Linked DNA regions of Homo sapiens: all the other regions are linked to region 1. Evidence: promoter capture Hi-C in 16 types of primary human blood cells and fetal thymus (Javierre and others, 2016). All regions are on one chromosome and are shown on one strand. The core of a region is centred on a gene start or on the middle of the fragment in contact, and the rest is flanking DNA. Distances in the headings are between cores, read along the strand shown. Region 1 holds the start of PDLIM5 (PDZ and LIM domain 5). Region 2 holds the start of AFF1 (ALF transcription elongation factor 1). Region 3 holds the start of PPP3CA (protein phosphatase 3 catalytic subunit alpha). Region 4 overlaps H2AZ1-DT (H2AZ1 divergent transcript). Region 5 holds the start of DNAJB14 (DnaJ heat shock protein family (Hsp40) member B14). Region 6 overlaps DNAJB14 (DnaJ heat shock protein family (Hsp40) member B14). Region 7 holds the start of DAPP1 (dual adaptor of phosphotyrosine and 3-phosphoinositides 1).

What was found. Contacts are between HindIII fragments. The CHiCAGO score rates a contact against its expected background, and 5 or more counts as called.
Region 2: the fragment with the promoter of AFF1 here is called in contact with the fragment with the promoter of PDLIM5 in region 1 in 1 of 17 cell types (neutrophils); the score reaches 5.3 in neutrophils.
Region 3: the fragment with the promoter of PPP3CA here is called in contact with the fragment with the promoter of PDLIM5 in region 1 in 1 of 17 cell types (non-activated CD4 T cells); the score reaches 11.8 in non-activated CD4 T cells.
Region 4: a contact is called between a fragment that was not itself captured here and the fragment with the promoter of PDLIM5 in region 1, in 1 of 17 cell types (non-activated CD4 T cells). The highest score is 7.0, in non-activated CD4 T cells.
Region 5: the fragment with the promoter of DNAJB14 here is called in contact with the fragment with the promoter of PDLIM5 in region 1 in 8 of 17 cell types (non-activated CD4 T cells, activated CD4 T cells, fetal thymus and 5 more); the score reaches 18.3 in non-activated CD4 T cells.
Region 6: a contact is called between a fragment that was not itself captured here and the fragment with the promoter of PDLIM5 in region 1, in 1 of 17 cell types (total CD4 T cells). The highest score is 5.9, in total CD4 T cells.
Region 7: the fragment with the promoter of DAPP1 here is called in contact with the fragment with the promoter of PDLIM5 in region 1 in 8 of 17 cell types (activated CD4 T cells, non-activated CD4 T cells, total CD4 T cells and 5 more); the score reaches 12.5 in activated CD4 T cells.

What each region holds. Positions count from the first base shown.
Region 1 is chr4:94,450,627-94,453,216 of GRCh38, reverse strand. PDLIM5 (PDZ and LIM domain 5) reads right to left here and starts at 1,275. Exons shown (of 13, transcript NM_006457.5): 1 at 1,222-1,275. RefSeq lists silencers at 776-1,035, 1,206-1,625. The HindIII fragment of the contact is 3,776 bases long and covers 126-2,590 here.
Region 2 is chr4:86,933,707-86,936,296 of GRCh38, reverse strand. AFF1 (ALF transcription elongation factor 1) reads right to left here and starts at 1,286. Exons shown (of 21, transcript NM_001166693.3): 1 at 1,057-1,286. It overlaps AFF1-AS1 (AFF1 antisense RNA 1), which reads left to right and starts at 1,447. Exons shown (of 3, transcript NR_038841.1): 1 at 1,447-1,810. It also overlaps a transcript of C4orf36 not described here. RefSeq lists silencers at 223-361, 832-1,581 and enhancers at 1-368, 369-910. The HindIII fragment of the contact is 7,488 bases long and covers 1-2,590 here.
Region 3 is chr4:101,346,227-101,348,816 of GRCh38, reverse strand. It overlaps PPP3CA (protein phosphatase 3 catalytic subunit alpha), which reads left to right and starts at 1,291. Exons shown (of 14, transcript NM_000944.5): 1 at 1,291-2,078. The coding sequence starts at 2,021. It overlaps PPP3CA-DT (PPP3CA divergent transcript), which reads right to left and starts at 1,040. Exons shown (of 2, transcript NR_033874.1): 1 at 808-1,040; 2 at 1-493. RefSeq lists silencers at 1,056-1,665, 2,136-2,495, 2,516-2,590. The HindIII fragment of the contact is 5,765 bases long and covers 1-2,590 here.
Region 4 is chr4:99,965,582-99,968,171 of GRCh38, reverse strand. All of the region lies in intron 1 of H2AZ1-DT (H2AZ1 divergent transcript), which reads right to left. Among named protein-coding and RNA genes, the nearest start is that of H2AZ1-DT, 16 kb to the right of the region's middle. The HindIII fragment of the contact is 2,031 bases long and covers 270-2,300 here.
Region 5 is chr4:99,945,336-99,947,925 of GRCh38, reverse strand. DNAJB14 (DnaJ heat shock protein family (Hsp40) member B14) reads left to right here and starts at 1,308. Exons shown (of 8, transcript NM_001031723.4): 1 at 1,308-1,487. The coding sequence starts at 1,355. RefSeq lists a silencer at 1,045-1,704 and an enhancer at 1,875-1,924. The HindIII fragment of the contact is 11,087 bases long and covers 1-2,590 here.
Region 6 is chr4:99,895,291-99,897,880 of GRCh38, reverse strand. DNAJB14 (DnaJ heat shock protein family (Hsp40) member B14) reads left to right here. Exons shown (of 8, transcript NM_001031723.4): 8 at 1-1,633. Among named protein-coding and RNA genes, the nearest start is that of LAMTOR3, 2.2 kb to the right of the region's middle. The HindIII fragment of the contact is 2,445 bases long and covers 61-2,505 here.
Region 7 is chr4:99,815,521-99,818,110 of GRCh38, reverse strand. DAPP1 (dual adaptor of phosphotyrosine and 3-phosphoinositides 1) reads right to left here and starts at 1,284. Exons shown (of 9, transcript NM_014395.3): 1 at 1,097-1,284. The coding sequence starts at 1,197. The HindIII fragment of the contact is 961 bases long and covers 680-1,640 here.

The DNA.
Region 1 (2,590 bases), core at 26-2,525:
CAGGCAGGAAATAGCAGCATACTCTTTCAAACACGTCGAAAAGGTTGGAATTTCTGTAGAGTTATGGATTTTCTTTTAGGGAAAGTCTAAACAATGTCTTTGCTCTAGTACTAGGGAAGGAAGCTTGGTATTTCCCACACTTGTATCTCAGCTTCATTAGTGGGTGAGAGGGGAGAAAGGAGAACTCAAGATGAACTACACAGAGTGACAAAAAAAAAGGCCTGAAATTAAAGAGAAATATCTTGAGATTCTCTTTCCCCGCAATGGAGAGAGAATGTAGGTAGAGCTGAAGAACTAAAGCCACAGGCACAGGATGAAAGCAGCCGACAGGACAGTTTTCCAGGAGGGATTCGCGCCTAGCCTTGTTGGCCAAATAAGGCTACCGAACGGGCCGTTTCCGTGGCAGGCGGGTTCAGACGTCCTCCCCGTCAGGAAGGCGGACTTGGGATAGGATCTGGCGATCACACCCTAAATCTGCCCTGCCCAGCGCCGCCACGAATTTTCCTTCCAAGCTCTGCCCTGTCCACACGCCCTTCCTTTTTCCACTTATTGTAAAACGCACCGAAGGCACAGTCTTACAAAAGCCCCAACAAGTACTCAAGTGTTAACAAATCTCGTGTTCATGACAAATGTGTTTCTTAAACGAGCTTTATTTCTGGACGCGCAGAAGTTTTCCCCAAACAGGTTACACAAAACTGTAAATATCTGGGGGAGAAATAAATGCTTCTCAGTAGCCTGGGAGCAAAGAAAAACTAACGCGCCTTTTCCTTTGAGTCCCGCTTCCTACCCTCCAAGAGACTGGCGCAGGACTGGGCACTCAGACACCACACCACGGTGGTGCCGGGCGACGCCGGCAGCCGGGTGGGTGGGAGCGGCAGTGCCCGTCCCTGCCGGCCCTCGCCACCTCCGGGCGCCCTCCCGCGTCCCCGTCTCCGCTACGCTGGTCCCGGTCGGCCCGGGCTGCGGGGACCCCAGGGCTCGCCCTCTGGCCTCATGCGGACTCCAGCGCTGCCCTTTTCCGGGCGCTCCTTTTCCCAAGCTGCTCTCCCACCTCCGCCGCTCCGCGCCCAGAAAGCACCTGAGGAGCCATCCCTGCCCGAGGAGCGCCCCCTCCTCGTCCCCAACCGGGCTTCCCTTCTCGCGTTCGGCGCACAGCGGCCGGTTCTTTCCCTTCTCCCACCGGAGATCCGAGAGGCGCATCGCCGGCCGGCCGCCACTCACCTCGGGTCCGGCGCGGCGCGGGGCTGCCTCCGCCTCAGACAAGGGCTGACAAGTGACTCGCGGTGAGGGCGCCGTCCCCACCGCCCGCGGGAACTTCCGCCTCCTGGCTCTCCCTCGCCCCACCCCCGACCCAGGACACGCCCCTCCGCTCCCGGCCACGCCTCTGGGCCAGTCCCAGCCGCGCCGCGCAGGGGCGGGGAAGGTGGCGGCGGCGCCGGGCGCTCGGGCTTGCTGGGGCTGGCTGAAGCAGCTGCGGAAAGACAACTGCGCTACCGAGTTTCGGTGGGAGTAGTCTTAGCGGATTTTGAGCGCTACCTGGCAAAGGTCTAACCCTCCGCTCGTCCGTTTTGTAGTGGGTGCATTTTTCTCTCCAGAAATTTAAATTGGCAAGCAGTTGCTCTGCCTAAAAATAGAAGGGTACTTTGGATAAATCTCTATCTATGCAAGTTCAGCGGTTACTGCCTGCGTTTTTTTTTTTGAAAGAGCTTTACATGCTCTGAAAAGTGCAGACCCAGAAGTTTACCTGTCAGGAAGGTGAAAACCAGTAACCCTAACAGAAGTTAACCCTGTCCATCACACCAGAAGACAGTGATACATAAAAGCGGCCAAAAGTGATTCAACCACTGTATCTTCAGTTTATTTTTCTAAATCCAAATCAATAGTCCACTTTCCAGCCTTCTATAGGGTTGCTTGATACGCCCGAGGAATTTATTCATAAGAAAACGTGAATAATGTTCACTGAACATACGGAAAGTAACTAGACTGTTACACTGTGAATTGGCTTATAAAACGTGAAAAGGACAATTCTTAACCAAGGAGCATATAAAGCAAGGATGAACTTCATGAGGTCCGTGAGCTCCCCGGCCCCCAGAAGTGCAAGCAAAATTCCAAAGGCGAAGATCCAAAGCTGCTCTTTCCCTAACGGTAGCCACTGGCCACATGTGGCTATCGAACAGTTGAAATGTGGCTACTGTAACTGAGACCATGAATTTTTTGTTTTACGTAATTTTAAATAATTTAACATTTAAAACTGAAGCAGGATAACATTTCTTTACTTTTTTTTTCTTTGAGACGGATTCTTGCTCTGTCTCCCAGGCTGGGATCAGTGGTGCAATCTCGGCTCACTGCAACCTCCACCTCCCGGGTTCAAGCGATTCCCCTGCCTCAGCCTCCTGAGTAGCTGGGATTACAGGCGTGCGCCACCACGCCCGGCTAATTTTTTGTATTTTTAGTAGAGATGGGGTTTCACCATGTTGGCCAGCCTGATCTCGAACTCCTGACCTCAGGTGACCAACCCGCCTCGGCCCCGCAAAGTGCTGGGATTACGGGCATGAGCCACCGCGCCAGGTCGTTAACATTTCTTTTAAGC
Region 2 (2,590 bases), core at 37-2,536, 7.5 Mb after region 1:
GTCTGATTTCCCCGTGGTGAGTCACACCCCGCAACGTGCACCAAGGGGGAGGGTGTTTAAAATTATCTCCGGCTCCACCCTTAAAACAAATCACTTGGCTGCAAGGCCTTTCCCCCTAACAGAGACTGGTTCAAGGGAGATTCGGACACATCTCCACCTCCAAAGCCAAGTGCCTTCCCGGGATGATCTGCATAACAATTTGCGGGTGCTGGTGGTGGAGAAGCTCCGGGAAGAGAAAACTAGCCGGACGGTATCGAACCGCCCGCAGGCCCGTCGCAGCTCCATTAATGCAACTACCATTACACTAAGGTAACGTGTGATTCACACTCTCCACCTTCTCTCCCCTCTCATTCGCTGGCTCCGGCGCTCGCACCGTCGGAGGGTGGGGTTGCGACGGCCACAGAGGATGGGACACCCGAGGGAAAAAAGCATTATCAAGAGAAATTAACCAGTCCCATACTAAAGACGCCTCTCCCTCTGTCCCTGAAGTTAAGTCTCAGAAGGTGGCTCCAACTCCTCCCCGGAGGCTACGGACCACCGACACACGCCTCCCTCCTGCTCTCAGCGAGACGCGGCGGGAAGCCCTCATCTCTCTCCACGACAGGCACAGGGAAGGGTCCCGGGGTGCAGGAGAGAAGAACCCCACTTTTCCCCGCCCCCTCCCCCCGAGAAACTTCTGGGACTCATTACGCAACTCAAGTAGCAGGTCCCAACAACGGGACAGCTCTCCGCAAAACGCGGGGTGCACAGGCAAACGTCTGACTTGGGGGCTGCGCGTGAGGGAGGAGCATGGGTCTCTTCCCATGTCCCCGTCCCCTGTTTTTCTACGCGCTACCTGCCGCGGGATCGCAAGTAGGGCGGTGAGAGCTCTGAGCCCTAGCCCGTTCTCCCCGAGGGCTCCCACCGGAAAAGTGGGAACGCCAGCGACTTGAGTCAGCGTGCTGGGAAGCCGGCAGAGAGGCGGGGAGAGCCTCGGCTTCCGAGAAGTCCGCGGCGGCGGCGTCGGGGGCCGGGCGGATCGACCCCCAGCCCTGGGTGGCGCAGGGCTGCGCTCACCTTCCAGACCCTTCCGTCCTCTAGTCCCGGGTCGGGCGCCCTCGTCACCTCCGCCCTCCCCTGACCTGTTGCGGTGGGAAAGGGCGCAAGTGCGGACGACGCAGGGGAGCGCCTCCTCCCGGGGCTCGGCTGCGGAACCGCGGAGGCAAAGGTGCAGCTGCGGCCGCAACGCGCGCAGGCGGCGGCCGAGTGCGCAGGGGCCGCGCGCGCCCGTCGCTCGCTAGCTGGCTGGCAAGCTCAGCACGCCGGCTGCCCGGGACGCCCCGAGGCCACGCCCTCCGCGCGAGGCCCCGCCCCCACCCCCACCTCCCGAGCTGCGGTACCGGGTTCCGCCCCGGCCCGCGCCCTCTAGCTGGCGCCACCCAAGCGGCAAGGGACGTCGCGGCCCTCCCGGGATTGGTGGGAGGATCGTGGGGGAGCGGCAGCTCAGGACGGAATACGGCAATGACCGCCCCGGTCGCGAGGGTGACCCTGCCCCGGGCTGCTGTGGGGGCGCAAGAACCCTTTCACTTTACGGCGAGATTAAGCTCAGGGTCAAGTTCTGAGCAAAAAGTGTCAAGGAGCCTTTTTGCAACCTCCTATAATATTGAAACAGATTCTGTGCCCTTTAAAGGAGATAATAACTAACATCTGGGGAGCGCTTTACAATTTAGAAAAGGCCTTTCACACACAGGCCTGTTTCATCTTCACAACAATCTTATAAAACAGATATATTGTTCCCATTTCCCAAATAATGAAACGGAAGCGCCGAAAAGTAAGTATTGTGCTCAATGTCACAGGCTACTAAGTGGCATGGGAAACCAGGTCTCCTGAATCTAGCCTCCGGGTTTCTGCTCTCCACCAGCCCAACCTCAGAAAATTCTAATAGGTGCAGGGGGCTTTGGCAAATAGACCCATGGGAAGAAGGGGAAACTTATGTCTAGTTAAGTCGCTGCCCGATTCCTGCTGTAAACATACCAAGGAAAGCAACAGGCTGTCTTCATTGTGTTGTCGCACCTTCCTTCCTGAAAGGGACGCAGAAAGATTACATCAAATGGCCCAGATGAGATTTCGCCGACAGTATTTTATGGTTTAAAATGGGTGAAATTATTTGGATGAAGAAAAGCGCCTTACTTAAATTTAATATGATGTGTAATGTAAATTGGTATAATGTGTGAAAATAAGCCCCTCCCTGCCTTCTCTGCCTTTTCTCTTTTTAATTTTGTTTGTCTCTACTGCTCTGCTCAACTCTTTTATTGTCCACATAATTGAAAACCTAATTGATGGATATTTGCATTTCCAAATTAAACCTTTGGCTACTTGACTTAATTTCCCATGGATTGTTTTCCAAAATATAACTCTTCGCCCTACTCCATATCCTCCCATCGGGAGATTGGTTTACCTAGACAGCTAAAATAATTAAGGTGTCCCTGATGAAACCTGGTGGTGTATCTATCTAAGATGAAAGTTCTGGTCATCCCTGAGCAGGATGGGACAGGAGTCATCTCTTACAAAGTGTTTGTACACCTTTTAAAGGTTTCTAACAGAGACTGAT
Region 3 (2,590 bases), core at 42-2,541, 6.9 Mb before region 1:
CCTTGGGTGCTGCAGTTGGTCGGGGAGAGGGGCTGTGTGGAGGTCACCTTCTGGTAGACGGAGACCCGCTTTTCAGACTCTGTGGCGCAGCAGGCGGGCCAGGAACATTTGGGCCACTATTGCTCTTAGCCCTGCCGCGCCTGACTTTCTCTCCTCTACTTTCCTTCCGACCGTAGGGACAAGTGTGGGGATCCGCTTTGGGCTCCAAGGCCCTGCCCGCACTGGCAGCACCAAGCGGGTGTAGAATGACTGGAAGGAGCAGGGAAGGAAGATGGGTGTCAACTGTCCCGGCCAGTGGCTGCGTGCATGTGTGTGTGAACAGGGAAAAGGCCACCCTCTCCCATGTTTCTCCCGTCTCCTCGGTTCTCCTCGGAGACCCGCAGGGCTGCCCGAGGTAGCTCCGAGTTGCCCTGGGTCGCTGGGGCTTGGTCCGCATCCTCCTCCGCTAGTCCGCTCCCGCGTTCCACAGCGCCCCGCCGCTCGGTGTGCACGCCTGGGTGGGACACAGTAACAGCCCCTAAGCCGCCAACGCAAAAGCAAAAACAACCGTACACCGCATCGCAGTCGTAGCTCTTCTCCGCAAGGTAAGTTGTTTATTCGTCGCCGTTTTGGCGATCCTCCCTGGACAGCTGCGGCAGCGACGGCAGCTGCGCCGCGGGCGCCGAGCTCCCAGCCTCTTCCTTCCTCCGCCCTCTCAGGGCTGCCTCTCACCCCCACCCTCTTCCCTCCTATCCCCGCCTTCTCTCTTCTTGCCCTCTTGTGGGCCACGCACACACCCGGAGACACCCTCTGCACTTGGCTACTCACACTGCGGCTTAACCCAGCCGACAAGGCACGCTTGCCAAAGAGGCGCGGGTGTGTGTGTGCGGGGTCCGCGTTCGGAGGCCAAAGGAGGGTGGCGTGGTAGAGCCCTTCTCCTCCTGGCCGCGACGCCTTGCCCACTCTCCTGCCCTAATCTCGGCCTGCCAGCAAAAGTGACACCTGAGCAGGGACTGGTCCGTAGAGGCGGCAGGCCCGCTGGTCCGGCAGCTGGAAGAAAACAGAGCAAGGGGCGGGGACAATGAGGAGGAGCGGGAGGCGGGACAAGCGGGGAGGCCGCCACCTGGCACTGAGTGATGCGCCCTCTAGCCAATGAACGCGAGGAACTCCGGCGTCGGGGCGGGAGGTCGGGGGCGGGCTCAGTGGGGAGGAGGAGGCTGCAGGCGCGCAAGAGGCGGGGGCCGGGAGGAGGAAGGGGAGGAGGCGGAGGCGGGCGCGGTGTTGGCGGCGGCGGCGGCGGCGGAGGGGGGTAGGTTGTGCCCGGGACTGTGTCTGCCGAGCTCGGCGGCTGTGCCTTGGTGAGTGGAGGAGCGGCGCGGGGAGGCAGAGGCGAGCGCGGGCGATCGCGGCGGCGGGACGTCTCCGGCGGCCGCGGCACCAGCGGCGGCGCTCTGTGTGGAGAAGCAGGGGCAGCGGCAGCAGCAACAGCGGCAGCGGCAGCAGCAGCGGCAGCAGCGGCGGCCGCCTCTCCGCCGCCGGGGACGCCAAGGTGCGGCTGGTGGCACTGACATCGGCGGCCCTGCCTCTCCTCCCTCGCCCCCGGCCTTCCCCATGTGATCGGTCTTAATCCTGGCCGTGTGTGCGCGCGTGGGGCTCCATTCCGCGGTGCTGGGTCTCCGTGCCGGGGTGGGTGCTCGTGTGTGCGCTTCTCCTCCCCATCCCCCTTCCCCCAAGAATAAAAGAAGAACCGGGAGGCGTGCTCAGAAAATAAATAAATAACCACCACACACGCGCAGCCCGGAGCGAGTCGGCGGGGCTGGCGGCAGCGGCGGAGGAGGAGTGAAGGCGGCGGCGGCGGAGGAGGGACGCGCGGAAAAGGCAGCAACTTTAAAGCCAGCTCAGAGCCTAGACCTCCAGCCGAGCGGTTTGCAGCGCGGCGGCGGCGGCGGCGGCGGCGGCGTTGAGTGTCTGGCCCGCCGGTCCGGTCGGGGTGTGCAGTCGGACGGACGAGCAGCGCGTCGCTGTCCTCCGGCAGCTGGAGATGTCCGAGCCCAAGGCAATTGATCCCAAGTTGTCGACGACCGACAGGGTGGTGAAAGGTAAGCGGAGCGCCGCGGTGGCCTGGGTGCACCGTGTGCCGCAGGCGCCAGGGCAGCTTGCCTCGCCTCGCCTTTCCTCCCCTCCCCCGCCCCAGGTTCTCCTCTGTCCGCTCCAGCCGCGGACCTTCTAGGATATTGTGCAACCCGCGAACCCCGCGAACCCCCCGCCCCCGCGGCGCCCTTCCCCCACGCGTCCCACCCAGCCTCACTTGGGGCATTTTTATTGACGGGGGCGTCAGTTGGCAAATGGCTGAGCCGCGGGGAGGTGGCGGCGGGGGTGGCGGTGGTGGGAGGGGGCGCCCGGGGGGTGGTTGCTGGTAGGGTGTAGCTGCTGTGACAGAAATAGGAAGTGGGTGGCTCTGCTCACAGGCTTGCATGGGATCGGGTTTATGGTTTTCTTCTGCAGAGGGAGGGGTGATTGATGGCTTTTTAAAAATTAATACGGCATTTTTATGTGGCCGTGGCTTTCCACCGACTGCCTCACTTGGGCAGGGTTGTCTTGGAGCTCCATT
Region 4 (2,590 bases), core at 36-2,535, 5.5 Mb before region 1:
TAAATCTGTAGGCTATTCAAAAATCTAAAATCATTCCAGAAAATATGAAAGTAATTTAGGAGCATTAGCAATTTAAAGTATATTAAAGAAAGCAGGGTACAAACCATATTCAATGATGCAGAATCAAGGGGAATAAGAGATCAATTTTGGAGATGGTGGCTCAGGGAATGTTCACTAAAGGAGAGTATTGAGCCATATTTTGAAGAAGTAAAGTGCAAAAATTGACAGCTATCTGAAGCACATTTCAGATAGAGGAAGCAACAAAAGCTTTGTAAACAAAAGCAGGTGATCAGGGAAACTATGGAGAAAACACATTGCTGAGCAACTGAAGGATAGGAGTGGGAGAGAGAATTTTCACTCTATACCACTTTTTTTAGCCTTTTAAATGTTGAAACATTGACAAGTTTAGCCTTTTCAAGAATCAATCAATTAATAAATAATGGCTTTTTAAATGGGAAAAGAATCATCTAGATTGAGACCATTAAAAAATGAAAAAATGAGAGTAAAGAGATACAGATGAGCCCATTATAAAAGTATTGAAAGTACTAGCAGTGCCCACAGGAATATAATCTATTTTCTCTACCATTCACCTGAAAAGACAGAATAACATTTTATCTAAATAAGACCTAACATCACCGTAGTGAAATGATCCTTAGCAGGCACAAAGTAAAAAACCAATGTGGGCCAGGCACAGTGGCTAACACCTGTAATCCCGACACTTTGGGATGCTGAGGCAGGTGGATTACTTGAGGTCAGGAGTTCGAGACCAGCCTGACCAACATGGTAAGAGCCCCATCTCTACTAAAAATACAATATTAGCCGAGCATGATGGTGCATGCCTGTATTCCCAGCTCCTTGGGAGGCTGAGGCAGGAGAATAGCTTGAACCTGAGAGGTAGAGGTTGCAGTGAGCCGAGATCGCGCCACTGCACTCCAGCCTGGACAAGAAGATCGAAACTCTGTCTCAAAACAAACAAACAAACAACAACAACAATGAAAAACAATGTGGAACTCTATCCTTGTGTGTCTAATTCTCCCACTGACAGAAATACTACAGCCAGACCAAATGTGTTTCTTGTTGCTGTTTATTAGGAGAAATTTTTGCTTTTGTTTTCAAAGTACTTTGTAGCCCTTAAGCCATTAATTACTTTAAAGAGATATTCATATTCTTTCATTTGGCCTCTTTTTCTAAAGAAAGGATAAGGAAAAAAGGTTATGTTTTCTTCAGTTCTCTCTTCATGACTCACAATTATGTTGTAAGAACAACTTTTCATTAACGCAGGATGTTTACGTGCCTTAAACAATTTCCAGAAAAGCTGAGTTCAAGTGCATAACAACACTGAATATTGGCTGCAAATTGAATTATAAATTACTCAGAACCATCTAAGTCACAGTTAATGTTGCCTGTGGCTTCTGAGTATAGTTCTCAATTTATCTGTAAGTTTTTGAAGAGGCGAAATTGTATTAGGTGCTGAAATTAAAACAAACAAACTTGATATATTAAAGATAGGGTATAAAACAGTAAAACTGGGGTGATTTTCTGCATTATAAAATTATTTCTTTACTCTGGTATCTTTTTAATGGAAATTTTCAGTGTAGTTAACTACACCTGAAGAGACAGAATAATAGTTTTTCTAAGTAAGACCTAATATCACTGTAGTAAAATGATCCTTAGCAGGAACAAAGTCAAAAACCAAAGTGGAACTCTATCCTTGTTGAGCAGATCTGATTCTCCTACCGATGGAAATATGTAAAGGCAGACCAAATGTGTTTCTTATTGCTGTTTATTAGGATAAATTTTGTAAATTATTTTTAATTCTTTTTAAAAATCAGTGTAAATAATTTTTCACTTTTGTAAAATGAAAATAGTCATGAAATATTGCCAGCATTCATTCTTCATGCTAATAATATTTTATCTTGGTATGATGCATTACAGTTAAAAAAGCACATGACTTAGCTCATGCAGTCTTCACAATAGTCCCATTCTGCCCAAGAGAAGTGGAATGCTCACATAGGTTGATTAGACCAACGTCTCTTAGCTGGGAAGCATAAATGTCAAATCCAGTTTGTTCTGAATTCAATTTTCCTCTTTTTTTCCACTGCTGCATCTTTGCCTCTTACCGTTTGTGTTTCATGTTCAAGTTCTCTGCATGTTATTTTAGTATAGCCCAACAAAACAAAATTTACAGTCAGAATATTTATATATGTAGATAAACTTAGCTGTTAAAGACAGCTCAGCACAACTTCAAACAATAAAGTATCGTTTATGTGGTGAAACCAGAGTGGCTAAGAAGCGAAGCTTGGTTTGTTTAAACAGGATATTGGGGTTGGTTTTTTTTTTTTTTAATTTAAGGGTAAAAACTATGATATGAAAAGGTCCCAAACAACGGCAAACTGATGACCACAAAGCAAAGTTTACCATTTTTTTCTTCCTACACAGAGACAGCATCTGCAGCAATTTCATTACCAATTTTTTCTTTTTGAACTCTACTGAAAATTTCAAATAAGTACTTAATTTCAATAATTATAAATATTTTGCCATATTGTTTATGCCTCCTGCATTAAAAAAATTTTTGGAGCATTTTAAAGCA
Region 5 (2,590 bases), core at 59-2,558, 5.5 Mb before region 1:
AAAGTTTTAATTTAAAAAGTTGGCAGGAGCTGGAGTGGGATTGTCAGTTTCTTAGGCTAAGTGTGACCATTTCAGTTTGTACATTGGCTTCGCTTGCTGTGTGACAGCACTGCACTAGTATGCTGTTAGCATGGTGGACTTGGGGAGGGAGAGAATAGGTAGGAATGTCCTGTATATCCACAGAATGAACTCCGAATTTAAACTTTAAAGATAATAGTGCTACGTGCCAGGCCCTGCTTTGAAGTCTGAAGTTGTTAAGTACTCAGTAACATCATTGGGGATATACTATCTCCATTTTATCGAAGAGAAGCAGGGTTTCTTATTTGAAAGTACCGAGTTATGGTAGTTAGCAGAATTAACAGCTTGGCTCACAGCATTATGTAAAAATTGTTACCTTGTGGTTGGGTTGAGCAGGTCATTTTGACAGTTTGTCATGTTTTTTTTTAAAAAATTTGCACATAGCAAACATTCCCCCCACCCCCACCGCGAAGACTAACAAGACACGGTACTTCCAAGTGGTAATGTTATCCAAATGGGACGGAAAAGGTGAAATCAAAAGTTTGCTTTCGTTAGGGCAGCCCCTGAGGGGCTGATTCCTGCCTTGTTTTGGCTACACAGGATTAAGGTCGATCTGCACCACTCGTTGCAAGCTACAAATTAAACTGCTTTGTACTTTGGATAGCCAGACATCCGGGTCAGAAAAAATGTAGCTGAAATAAGGCTGCCATACAAGCCCTAAGATTAGGTTCAAACGACGCTCTAACGTGTCCCGGAAGTGCTGAGACTGGACTGACACCTTGGTCCTCACCTGACCGCATCCTCCCTCGCTTGAGGGGCCCAGAGGCGGAACCTCCAAGTCCTGGCAATTTTACTGAAAACGAGTGTCCCCTTCCCGGACCCTGTCCTCCTGGCCTGAGCTGCGAGGGCCTCGCCTGGAGGTCACAGGGCACGGCGCTACCAATGCCGGCAATCGGGTCCCGGGCGGAACCCCTCCCCGCGATGGGCAGCCCGGCTGCTATCGTCCGCCTCCCGGGCAGGTCCGCTTCGAGCCTGCTGGCGCCGTGCGCGGACCACCGAGTCAGCTCGGACGCCCCGGCCCAGGAGGTTGGTCCTGGGCCGGGACGGATGCGGATCGCGCCCTAGGGGCCCGCGGGGGGCGGGGAGGCCGCCGTGAGGAGGCGGAGCTGCGAGGCCCGCCCGTCCGCCCGGGCCGTCGCAGCCGCTGCCGCGGTCCCCTGCGCTCCTCCCCGCTGCCGCCGCACGCCCCCAGCCGGTCCCGCCTCGCCTCCTCCGCGGCGGCGGCTTCCGCCCTTCTTAGCTGCGCTGCCGGAGGAAACGGAAGAAGGAGCAAGCTATGGAGGGGAACAGGGATGAGGCTGAGAAATGTGTCGAGATCGCCCGGGAGGCCCTGAACGCCGGCAACCGCGAGAAGGCCCAGCGCTTCCTGCAGAAGGCCGAGAAGCTCTACCCACTGCCCTCGGCCCGCGGTGAGACCTCAGCGTCCCTTCTCTTCCTGCCCAATCCCCAGACCACCGCGTAGCCCGCCCCTGCCCCCACCTCGGCCCCTCCTGGAGGCCTGCGGGGCCCCCGGCCTGTCTGAGCCAGCCCCAGCCCCAGGCCCGGTGGGGAGCATCCCGACACACCCCCGCCCTGGCCCCAGCCCCGGCTCCGGGCTGGGGCTCGGGGAATGCTGCGCGAGGTTCCTCTGCACCCGCCTGCCCGCCGGCTCCGCGTTCCGCTGTCCTAAATGTCCGGGTTTCATTCTCCCTGGAGGAGACTTGTCTGGTCCCGTCTTACCACAGTGAGGCTTTATTTGTATCTGTGTTGTTTATGTGGCCCCCTCCCTCCCCATTCTCAGTCCTACATAAGGCCTAGGCCCCTATCGAAGTGAGAGGAATGGTGTACTCTAGTGGCTAATCTCAGATTCCATGTTTCTGAGATCTGTAGAAAACTGTTCCCAAAGCAAACATCGAATACCTGAGATGACATTGCTTTTCCCTGGGAGAGAGTTCCTTTAAAAGAGAAGAGCACACTTTCGGCAAGAATGGTCAAGAGTCAGTAATGATTGCTGAAGAGTATCTGATTTGATAACACCATGATTATCGACGAACCAAATCTCTGAGGAATATGGTACTGGGTTTCCTTTAGTTGAAGTCAGCTTATTTATTTTCCTACTCGATAGGCTTCGGAGTAATAATAGCCAACATTTATTGAGCACAAAGTGCCAATAGTTGTGCCCAACATTTTGCATGGATTATTTCATTTATTCCTCAGAACAATTCTGTGTAGAGGTGCAGGATTCATTTGACCAGGTTTACCCACGTGGAAACAGACTTTCTGATAATTAATGAATGAATTAGCGAATGAATGAAAGTATCTTACCCAAGGTCACACAACAATTAGTAGCAAAGTCAGAATAGTAGCTGAACTTTCAGACTCGAAAAGGCCTTTAACCGCTACACTGTTGCCTTGCCATTAGTATTTCCAGGTTAAGAAGAAAGTTATCGATAGATTCAATTAATTGTAGAAAATTATTAATGAAAATATGGGGCCACTTGTTTTGTTGTCTCTTAAATTTTTTTCTCTACGT
Region 6 (2,590 bases), core at 34-2,533, 5.4 Mb before region 1:
AGAGGACCAAATGGTTAAGAAGAGAATTTGTACATTTCTTGAGCTTCCCCATGTGAAGCTTGGGTTCAGTACTATCCTATTACTATCCATCTTCATAATGAGTGAAGCAAACTGAAAGGGAATTCATAATCTTTTTTCTTATCTGAACAGAAAAACTAATGAAAATCAACAATAAATCTTTATTTTAATTTTCATTCAACAGCTGAAAAACCATGTCTGTTGACCACATTGGACCATTGCCTAGTTAAAATCCATAAAATTCCCTATAAACCAATGAAAAGAAACTTGTCTGGCAATAATTTCCAACATTTTAAATTCTAATTTTTAGTTACAAAGAAAAAGGATAGAATGAGGCTTTTCAAGGAATTCTTGCTCATCCCTTCAATTATTTGGCAGGTAAAACAGTCCTAGAATTCAGCTTCCTTTTTGGTTTTATTACTATTAAATAGATACTTTCATATAAATGGAAACACTTTTCCTCAAAACATTAATTCAAAACATACTCCTTATATTAAGGATTATAGCACCATATTTTTTGTATATTCCCTATGTGTAACTTTTTCCTGTTGGTATGTGATATTTTTCATTTAATATGACTATCTGCTGGTGTTGGGGCCAATAGATTTGTGAATATTCTGTGGATGTGTCTATGTATAGGTGTATATATATATATATATATTTTTTTTTTTTTTTCCCAGCTAATTACCTCAAATGTGTGATTGTTTAATATATACCACACTATGTTTGCACAGAGCAGGGCTTCCATTAGCAGTGGATATTTTTATGTCTGACTTTGAAAATCAGTCAACACAATTTCATTGGTGTGAATTATTTGTTGCTCTTTTTCATATTTTAATGGAGAGATTCCTATTATAAGGCCCATGCTTCAAACATAATTATATCTTTCTATATCCAGCCATCTGGAAATACATAGGGGTAAGAAGTATTTCTTGAAATGTCCTTGTTTAGTAAGTTAGTAAAAACTGGGATGACTAGTTGCCAAGATGTCTTGTAACTGCATAGCAGATGACACCTGGCATGGCAAGTCTCATTCACTTCAGCACAACACTCTGTACATTTCAGTCTGATATTCTACTTTGCCATTTAAGGACACCATTAAAATCATAGAGATTTTCAGTGACATTGGAGTATTGTAATTATTACTTTCAAAAAATTATTTTTAATAGGATGATTAAACCAATGAGAAGAAACACACATAAATGATATTTTGCAGTTTATCTGTATTAAGAAATGCTTCTTGCCAATTTCTAGTTTTAGTTTTTGGATTGCTACATAAGACTTTCTTTCCATTTACTTTATGTGTTTTTAAAAGCTGCAGGTAATTTTTAAGGTTTGATGGAATTATAATGGAAGCCTTGTATAAGTTAAATGAAATTGGTAAAGGAGAGCTTACTTTGTCTATAATGCATTCAGGATTAAAAATTAGATTTCAAAATGAAATGTCTGATTTGTAAAATATTTAATGTTATATCAGACTTACATAAAATTTTCTGTGAGAACTCAAATGCATTTGATTTTTAATGAATGTTCTGAATGAAATATGAATTTTTGTCTTTCAGTCTCTGTAGTTTATCTCAATATATTAATAAAAAGGTCTGTTCTCACTGTAAAATGTTTGTTTTTATCATGTTTTATACTCAATATGGCCACTCTTTCATTCATTCAACTATTCAACAAGTATGTCAATGCTTGCTATATCCCAGGCAGTGAGCTGGGTGCTGGGAATTAATCACTGAATAAGAAAGACAAAAACCTTAAAGAGTTTACATCTAGCAAAGAAAATAAATATCAAGTAAATAATTATAATTATGATAAATTCTACAAAGAAAATTACAGGGTACAATGAAAGCATTTATCTAGAAGACCTAAACTATTCAGTGAGGGTCAGGGAAGGCTTCTCTGAGAGTGAGTTTAAGCCAAAATGCAAAAGATGAGATTAGTAGGATTAAGGTATGCTAGAGAAATATCTCAGGCAGAACGTGCTAAGTTGGTAAAGTGATAAAAATCTTTATGGAAGTGAAAACAAACTTGTATGATCATAGCATAAGGAATCCAGGGTAGGTGAGAGAATTAAGATAGGGGCCAGATCCCCATAAGAATGATATATAAACCATGATGCTGATATTGAACTTTATCCTAAGTCAATAAACTTGATTTTCAAGGAAGGAGTTAAATGATGTGATTTGGGTCTTTAGAACATCATTTTTGTTGCTGTGTGGAGACTGGAGGGCAAAAGAGAATGTAAGAAGAATAGGAGGTTGTTGTCAAAAGAGAGATGATCATGGCTTGGAGTAGGGTAGGAATATAGATAGGTGAATAGTTTTCAAAGATAGGAGGTAGAATCAACAGAACTCTGATTAGATTTGTGACATATGGAAGCAGCAATTGAAAACCAGGCTAAAGTTTTCTGAAAATTTGGCTATGAAAGGGAGTAGAGGAAAAACAGTGTGGTAGCTGAAAGAGGATGCGATTTCTAAAGAAGCTTTTCTTTTGAGGGTCTCGCTCTGTCACACAAGCTGGAGTTCAGTGGGGCGATCACCACTCGATGCAGCCTCAAACCCTGGGCTCA
Region 7 (2,590 bases), core at 35-2,534, 5.4 Mb before region 1:
AATTATTAATAAACTTTTACAGTAATACAACATAAAAAGATACAATCTCTGCAGCCTTAACACAGAGAGATTTCAACTCTATTTTGGTTTTTCTTTGGTTTCGGACATAGCCTGTGGTAGGTTGGATGCCCAGCTTTGCTATGTAATTGATGTGTGACTAGCAAGCAAGTTATTCAAACCTGTTTGGTACTTGTTTTCATCCTTTGTAAGATGAAGATGACAACAGCTCCTATGTCATTGGATTGCTATGAAGAGTTAGAGCTATTTGTCCAGGCAGAAGGTAAAGGTTTTGCCTCTCCTCATGCACAGGTGTCAAAGCCACCTTCATTGGGATATTCCCAGTGCATTAGGCAGTTTCTCTGGGAAATCCCCAATTCCTCTCTTGTGTAATACTTGTTTCTTATTAAATACCCGGATGAGTTGTCATCTGGGTCCCTTCTTAAAGACAGAGCTCCAATGACTCCACCTACCTATGCTTACCTGTTTGAAGCAGAAATTTTATCCTCTTCCTGGATTGTTGGTACTGAAAGGCTCAAAGTTGGCTCTCTGGACATACATACGATATCAAATCTCACAAATGCAGTATCAGGAGAAAGAAATATACAAGCGAGACTGTTGCAGGAACTTCCTCATTCTCTGTCTTTTGAAAAAGTCCCTCTCCCTTACAGTAGGGTAAGCTTTCTGTTTATCTTACCAGAAACACAGTCCTTTTACTGTCCCTGGGTCAGTGCTAGAAACTCTTGAACAGCGCATTTATTCATAAACCAGAGCAACATCAAGGAAGCCAGGCAACATCACCTCTATATCCCAATTCTGTCCCTCTTCTCAAAGAATGTCCAACATTTGATTTTTTTCCCTATTTTCTCAACCAACTTGTTTTCACATCTAGAAAAATAATGCCTGCTTTTCCAATGGAATTAGCCCCAGACAAGAAGATACTTAACAGATACAAATGAATAAAGTGGAAAAAAATAAATGGTTGAGGTGGCAGAGGGCAACAAGGCACTGAAGATAGTCATTAATCAAAGCATGCAGGTGGGAGTGCGGAGTCAATGTCCACCCACTAGGTACTTTGAAAGGAGATCTGCTGCCTTACCCCAAGTCCTGGAGCAGCTCAGCCTCTCCATCGGATCTGCTCCACAGATCTGAGGGATCCTGGGTGCTCATCTTCCCTTCTAGAAGTTCTGCTCTGCCCATTCGCGCCCTTCACAGAGGTAGAGAGAGAGACACAACTGGGCTGCTCCTGACACCTTCTCGCTCTGTGAGACAGCAGCCTGCTATGGCTCTGAGTCTCCAAGGCAAGGAAGTGAAACTTGGTTACTTACTCCTCCCACCAACACCACCACCCTGGCCTGGAGGCACTGGCAGGAGTGTTCTGTCAGTCAGGAAGTATGCAAACTTAGGTAGCTACCTCTGAGGACACCCACACTACATCACGCAACAGGCGGTTGCTATCAAAGGAAATGAAGAGGCAACCACCCCACCTGGGATTGGACAACAGTGCAAACTGCTTGTGTGAGGCCAAACCCTAGCTTCTCCCTAATGCTATCAGCCTCTGGTTTGTAGTGGAGGATGCGTGCACTCTTTTACCCCATCTTCTTTCTGTCTTACACACCAACACAGGGAACACTGAGGAAGCTTCTCTATCAGGAACACCTTTAGAGTGGATAGAAAAAGCAGAAGCAAACCACAAATTCGACCCTGAAGTTTGATGTTTTAGCACTTTTGCAATATTTCTGCTTGTTTACCCAGACCTTCTAATATATCCTCAATGCTCCGAATAGGGATGATTCAGAGACAATTATTGTTTCCTCCACAGAAAAAGAATTAGGAGAGGAGAAGGTAGGAAAAAGTTACAAGGGGCCATTCTGGTGCCCACCTAATGGGGCATATTAGAACTCCTGGAGTCTTTTTTTTTTTTTTTTTTTGAGACAGTCTCGCTCTGTCACTCAGTCTGGAGTGTAATGGCATGACCTGAGATCACTGCAACCTCCACCTCCCAGGGTTCAAGTGATTCTTCTGCCTCAGCCTCCCAAGTAGCTGGTATTACAGGCACCCGTCATCATGCTCTGCTAATTTTTGTGTTTTTATAGAGACAGGGTTTCACCCTCAGGTGATACACTCACCTCGGCCTCCCAAAGTGCTGGGCTTATAGGCATGAGCCACTGCACCTGGCCTGAACTCCTAGAGTCTTTGAGTGCCACTTCCTTCATGGGCTTACTCACACCTGCATGGCTTTGTGCCCAGATTCATATGTAGAGCAGGATTCTATCTGCCTGGAATGCTAAAGGTAAATTGCAGTGACTGAATCCTTGGGAAGTGGAACAAAGTGCAGTATCAAATGAGTCAAGGACATATGTTGCTTCCTGCCTTTTCTATGTACCTACAGGTCTCTCTCTCCCTCTCCCTTTCTCTCTCTCTCTTCCTATCTCTACTCCCTGACTCATTCAGCACTCACCACAGTGCTCTGTAACTTGTTCTCACAGTGTGGCCTGAGGACTAAACAGCACAGCAGAACTGTTCCTAAAGGACTAGATGATTGCAAAAGGCTGCTGTGCAATGGTTCTATCCTTCATCTTCCTCCCTATTA